2 separate regions of the Homo sapiens genome follow, and region 2 is linked to region 1. The links are contacts of gene promoters, found by promoter capture Hi-C in blood cells and fetal thymus (Javierre and others, 2016). All regions are on one chromosome and are shown on one strand. Each heading gives the region's core, a stretch centred on a gene start or on the middle of the fragment in contact. The rest is flanking DNA. Distances are from core to core; before and after follow the strand shown.

What was found. The method cuts DNA at HindIII sites, captures the fragments that hold promoters and counts their contacts. A CHiCAGO score of 5 or more calls a contact.
Region 2: a contact is called between the fragment with the promoter of LEMD3 here and the fragment with the promoter of XPOT in region 1, in 1 of 17 cell types (non-activated CD4 T cells). The highest score is 5.5, in non-activated CD4 T cells.

What each region holds. Positions count from the first base shown.
Region 1 is chr12:64,402,946-64,405,645 of GRCh38, reverse strand. XPOT (exportin for tRNA) reads right to left here and starts at 1,254. Exons shown (of 25, transcript NM_007235.6): 1 at 842-1,254. RefSeq lists enhancers at 1-532, 1,630-1,679 and silencers at 640-749, 1,080-1,239. The HindIII fragment of the contact is 10,073 bases long and covers 1-2,700 here.
Region 2 is chr12:65,168,144-65,170,991 of GRCh38, reverse strand. LEMD3 (LEM domain containing 3) reads right to left here and starts at 1,409. Exons shown (of 13, transcript NM_014319.5): 1 at 1-1,409. The coding sequence starts at 1,395. LOC124902953 (a long non-coding RNA gene) reads left to right here and starts at 1,576. Exons shown (of 2, transcript XR_007063349.1): 1 at 1,576-1,775. RefSeq lists enhancers at 252-331, 1,242-1,391, 1,074-1,646, 1,832-1,891 and silencers at 325-528, 912-1,121. The HindIII fragment of the contact is 1,790 bases long and covers 1,263-2,848 here.

The DNA of each region.
Region 1 (2,700 bases), core at 5-2,504:
CTCCGTCTCAAAACAACAACAACAAAACCCCAAAAAATGTTTCAATACGGTAAACAATTATGCATCTTGCAAAGGTTCTTGGGGGAAGGCAAGCAACATACTTAAAATATTAAGCCTTAACTTTTCCTGGATAGCCATTAAGAATCAAACAATTTGGAAAAATTCCTCTACACCTACTGAAGACTGTTTCAAATACTACGACTGAATCTTTCCAGCCTTTTAACACCACGCTGACAAGTCGGTTTAATAAAACGTAACTCTCCCCCAACCCCCGCCCGCCACAACTAATTAGCACTTTCAAAAAGTACTCGTTTTTCTGGTTACAGGGAAACCTCATGCTTCTCTAGTCCTGCAGGATGGTGAGGAAGGTTTGAGAAGAAATGGAGCGTCCGTGCTGGCCAATTACTGCACAGAAATAACACTTTTCCTTTTTGTCCAGGGGTGGGGGAAGAATCAAGTTTGAGGTCTCCACAGTTGATAACGCTACAACGATGACTAACGGGCTTCGGAACCACAGGCGATGCCGACCCTCCTCTGCTAGCCTTGCTCCCATCCCTCCCCCGATCCCTCCCCTAAAGGAAGCCTCGTGGCAATTCGGGTGATGAAACACCAAGCAACCGCCGGCCACGCACTCGGGACGCGCTCCTCGGCGGCGGCCCCGGCTCGTACCCACCCCCACCCGGTCCGCCCAGCCAGGGGGTGCACCGCCATAGAGGGTCCCAAGCCTGCACCCTCCCTGGCGTCGGGACTCCCCCGGGCCGGTCCGCCCCGGCCAACTTCCTCGAAGCCTCACGCGGACCAAACCTGGTCCCGGTCCCGCTGCCCCCGAGCCCCGAGTCACCTTCCCTATCACTCCATCCCGCCTCCCAGCCTGCACTCCAGATGGTCAGCCAGCGGAGCGGAGCGGCGCGGCACGCAGAGAGCTGGGAGAGCGGCCCTCGTCCTTGTCGCCGTAGTCCTCCGCCACGGCCGCAGCTACAACGCCAGAGACGGTGCTGGCCGGGACCGCGCGCCTCTAGTCGCTCTGCGTCCCCTGGCACCTTCTCTTGCGTGGCGCCGGGCAGGCAGGCAGGCAGGCAAGCAAGCAAGCAAGCAAGCGGGCGGGGTCGGCGCCCCAGGAAGGGAAAGAGCGCGAGGGCCGGCTAACGCCGCCGCCGCCGCCGCAGCCGCCGCCGCCGCTGAGTCAGCGCGAAGCGCGCTCCCCGCGTCGGTGCCGCGCGGGCGGGCGCCGGCGCCAGCAGTCTCTTGGAGAGTGCGGGCGGCAGCCCGCGGGCTGACGCCGGAGGCCTACAACTCCCAGCATGCAGGGAGCGGCCGGCGCTTCCGGGCGGCGAGGCGCACACGCGCTCCCTGGCGCTCGCCGGAAGGCGTGGTCACCGGGGCTTGAGGTGCATGCCGGGATGAGGCATCCGGCCCAGGAGTCCCTACCCAGCTCCTAAATCCCCGGCTGTGTCTGCGTGGTGTCAGAGCTCAAGCGTCAGGTTCGCCCCGAGCATTCCACAAAGGGCTTCTAGTAGTTGAGAGTACGGATTCACGAATCAGGATGACGTGGTTCTAACCACGTGTGAGTCAATTTAATTGCTTGTCTACGGCCCCAAGTGTCCCGAGTACAGCAGTGTAAAGCTCTGATGAGTGCTGACAGGTTTTCAAAATTAATTAATTAATTTATTTATTTATTCTTTGAGACGGAGTCTCGCTCTGTCGCCCAGGATGGGGTGCAATGGCGAGATCTTGGCTCACTGCAACCTCCGCCTCCGGGGTTCAAGCAGTTCTCCTGCATCAGCCTCCTGAGTAGCTGGGATGACAGGCGCGCGCCACCATACCCAGCTAATTTTTGTATTTTTCGTAGAGACAGGGTTGCACCATGTTGGACAGGCTGATCTCGAACTCCTGACCTCAAGTGATCACCTGCCTCGGCCTCCCAAAGTACTGGGATTACAGGCGTGAGCCACGGTGTCCGGTCCAAAATTTATTTTAAACAGACTAAAATTTTGTCCATGAAAAGAAGGAGAGCATTCTTAGGAAGTCCTACTCACGGGATCTTTCGATGCTACTAAATGTCACTTCATTTATTTGGTCACAGATTTATTAATTTATTAATGCAACATAGAGGCAGTGTAGGCTTAGGCTGCCTCGACTTGACTGCCACTCCGCCTCCTCACTAGTTGACCTCAGGCACTTTACTTTAGTCTATCCATGCTTCAGTTTACTCGTATGTAAAATGGGGATTGTTAATAGTACCGACCTCAAAGGGTTTCTGTGAGGTTTGAGTTAATACATGTGTTTGACACACAATGTGCTCAATATTTACATTTCATTGTTGATTATTCAATGTGTACTAAATACAGACTAGGTTGCTGCCACAGACTACAAACAAAACTTGGAGAGGGAGGAATGGTAAGAGCATAGAATAAAACTAATGTTTTAACAGCTACCTTTATTTAGCTGTCCAAGACACTACACCAGGCATTTCCTATATAAAATACCTTGAATCACTCTTGCATCATGTTTCTAATTTATGTGTTTAAAATGTCAGGCTAGTGGCTACAAGATGTCGCTAAAGGAGAACTGGGTTTTAATTTTTTCTTGTTTTTAGAGAAAGGGTCTCGCTCTGTTACCCAGTCTGGAGTAGAGTGGTCATAGCTCACTGCAGCCTTGACCTCCTGGGCTCAAGCAATCCTCCTGCCTCAGCCGCCCAAG
Region 2 (2,848 bases), core at 160-2,659, 770 kb before region 1:
TGTTGGGGACACCTCCTCCCGTTTAAATTGCTGGAGAAGTTCCTCTTCGGGTTCGGAAAGCTTCGGTTTGTTGTATGTGTTTTTCAGGTAGGTATGATTGGAGCCCGTATGATTGGCGTGATTGATCCTGAGTGAACTAGAGGCGGCCACCGCCGCACTGGGAGGGAGACTGTTAGAATAAATCCTGGGGGAGTCCACACTGAAGGCCCCACCGCCAATATGATTATTGGTTTTCAGAAGGGAGCCTGTTGACGAATCCAAGGTTGAGTCCATGTCAGTAAGTGGCGGGGGCAGGAGAGGGGTCAGTTTCTTAGCGTTAACACGGTATCTAGGAACGGGGCTGGAGTCCACTTGATCACACCCTCCTCCCTGCTCCGCGGCCGCCGCCTCTTCGAGGTTTCGGCTCCTGTCTAGACTCCCGGCAGCCGCCGCCCTGTCATTCATCGCGAGTCCTCCCCCTCCCTGAACTGAAGTCTCCAGCCTGCCGCCGGCCGATTTAGCAGTCAGCGGGGGGAGAGGCTTACTATGGGTTCGTCTGGGCCGATGCCGGGAAAGGGAGTCGTCCTTTAATACCTGTCTGCTGGAGGCCACGTCGTCGTCGTCCTCTTCCTCTGAGTCCGAATAGTTTTCCCGGCAGCTGTAGGGGACAAGCCGGCTGCCATTCACGGTCCGGCTCGCCCAGAGCGGCTCCTCGGTCTCCGGGTCCCTCTCCTCACCGTCCTCTCCCTCCCCTTCCTCGTCCTCCACTGCTCCATCTTTCCCCGGCGGGGTCTGCAGCTCGGGGCCCGCCGGCCTCCTGGCCCCCCACCACGAGTGGGGCTTCCTTCGCTCTGCAGAGTTGCTGTTAGTCACCTCGCTGGCGGCCAGGGGCGCCGGCGGCGCTTTGAGCCCGCGGTACTGGAGCGAAGCCCGGTCTTTCCTCCCGCCGCCGCCGGCCTGGTCCCGGGGACTGGCCTCCACGTCCGACTCGTCCGAGCTGAAGCCCAGCAGCACTTTGCTGCCAGCCGCGGGGGCGGCGGAGGCGCCCCCGGGCCCTCCCAGGAGGCTCTCTGGGCCAGAGGCCGAGATTCGGCACAGGCCCCCAGGAGTCCGTAAGTAGGAGAGGTCGCCCGAGACCGGCCGGACCCCCATCCCCGCGGCCGCCGCCGCCGCTGGTCCCGCGGCTGCGACCGTGGCGGCTGCCGTGTTATTGTTATTACTGTTCCGCGTCTTGTTGCCGCGGCCCCCTGACCGGTGCTGTTGCTGCTCTTCCTCTCGAAGCTTCTTCAGCTTCTTGAGGTAGACCGGGCGGGTGCTCTCCGTCACTGGTCCGGGAGACAGGCCGTAACGGCGGAGCTGAGAGAAAAGCTCCTCATCCGAGAGCTGCTGAGGCGCCGAAGCTGCTGCCGCCGCCATTTTCTCTCCAGGGTGTTTTACAAGCTCCGCGCTACCGGAAGTGACGCGCCGCCCTAGACCCTGAACTAGACCGCGCTGCGTCGCCCTCCCAGCGCCGCGGGCATCTCGGCCAATGGGAGGCGCGGGAGGAGCTCACCTGAGCGGGAAAGAGCCACCTGAGCAGCGCGCGGCTCCCACGGCGGAGACTGTTTCTACTCTCTCACCTTGAGGTGTCGGCGCATTCTCCCCCTGCTCTCTATCTCATCTCCAGCTGTTCTCCGCCCTGCCCTTCCAAGTGCCGTTCCCGGGAGCTGTCTCTTACTAAACCACACCTTGACCTCACCTTCCTAGGTTCCTGCCACCGGGCAGTAATAACTGAAATCTACCTTGAAGTTTATGGCGTAAGTTTTCTTTACATCTGGATTCCCAATGCCGAGGGAGCCTAGACCTACTGAAAGAAATTCTGCTGGCCAGACTAGATTGGCAGCTTTCCCGTCTGACTTCAGGTTGTCTATTTTCAGTTCGTCTTTAGCTTGACCTACCAAAAAAAAAAAATTTTTAAGTGACTTTCTCTCGCTGCTCTTTTTGAGAAGCCTCACCTCTCTCATTCTGAGAAGATACGGAGTACACCAATCACAATACAATTTTCTTCTAGCGTAATGGCTGTTCATTCATTAGTTAATTGTAAGATATTATCTTTTTTTCCTTTTTTGAAACCTAATGACTTTACTACGTCAGCACTTGAAAGTGAAAGAGCTTGTCTGCTTCATTCTAAGACTCTCAGAGACATAACACATGATCCTATTTATTTCCTTCTTAGCACCTTTCCAACCAATAGTTATTTATCAGTTATTAATAAATATTTGTTTACTTTCAAAATTATTTATTGTCCTATCCTTTTGGACTATAATAAGCTCCATGTGTGGAGGAACCTTGCTTCTGTTACTCACAATACTAGTAGAAGCTCAATAAATATTTGTTGAATGAATTAAAGAATTGCAAAGAGAGGATAGTATGAGATGAATATTTTGAAATAAGACTAGTGCCAGGTGAGGTGGAGAAACCTTCACACAAAGTCAAAAAAACAAGGACAAGACCTGGAACCCCAACTCTGCCATTTACAGAATAGGAAATGAATCCCAGAGAGGTGAAATGTGCCCCATGTGGTGAAGATCTTGTCCCATTTTCCCATTTCCCCAAACCTTGGCAGACAGACAATTCTTTAGTACTTCAATCCTAGTAGCTACAAAATACTACAATAATTTTTTGTTGTTGAATGAGTTATTTTACCTATTACATTACCCTATACACCTGTACAGAAAAACGTTAGTCAAAAGCATAAATACGGCCGGGCGCGGTGGCTCACGCCTGTAATCCTAGCACTTTGGGAGGCGGGGCGGGGGGCGGGGGTCAGGGGACGGATCACGAGGTCAGGAGTTTGAGACCAGCCTGGCCAACATGGTGAAACCCCGTC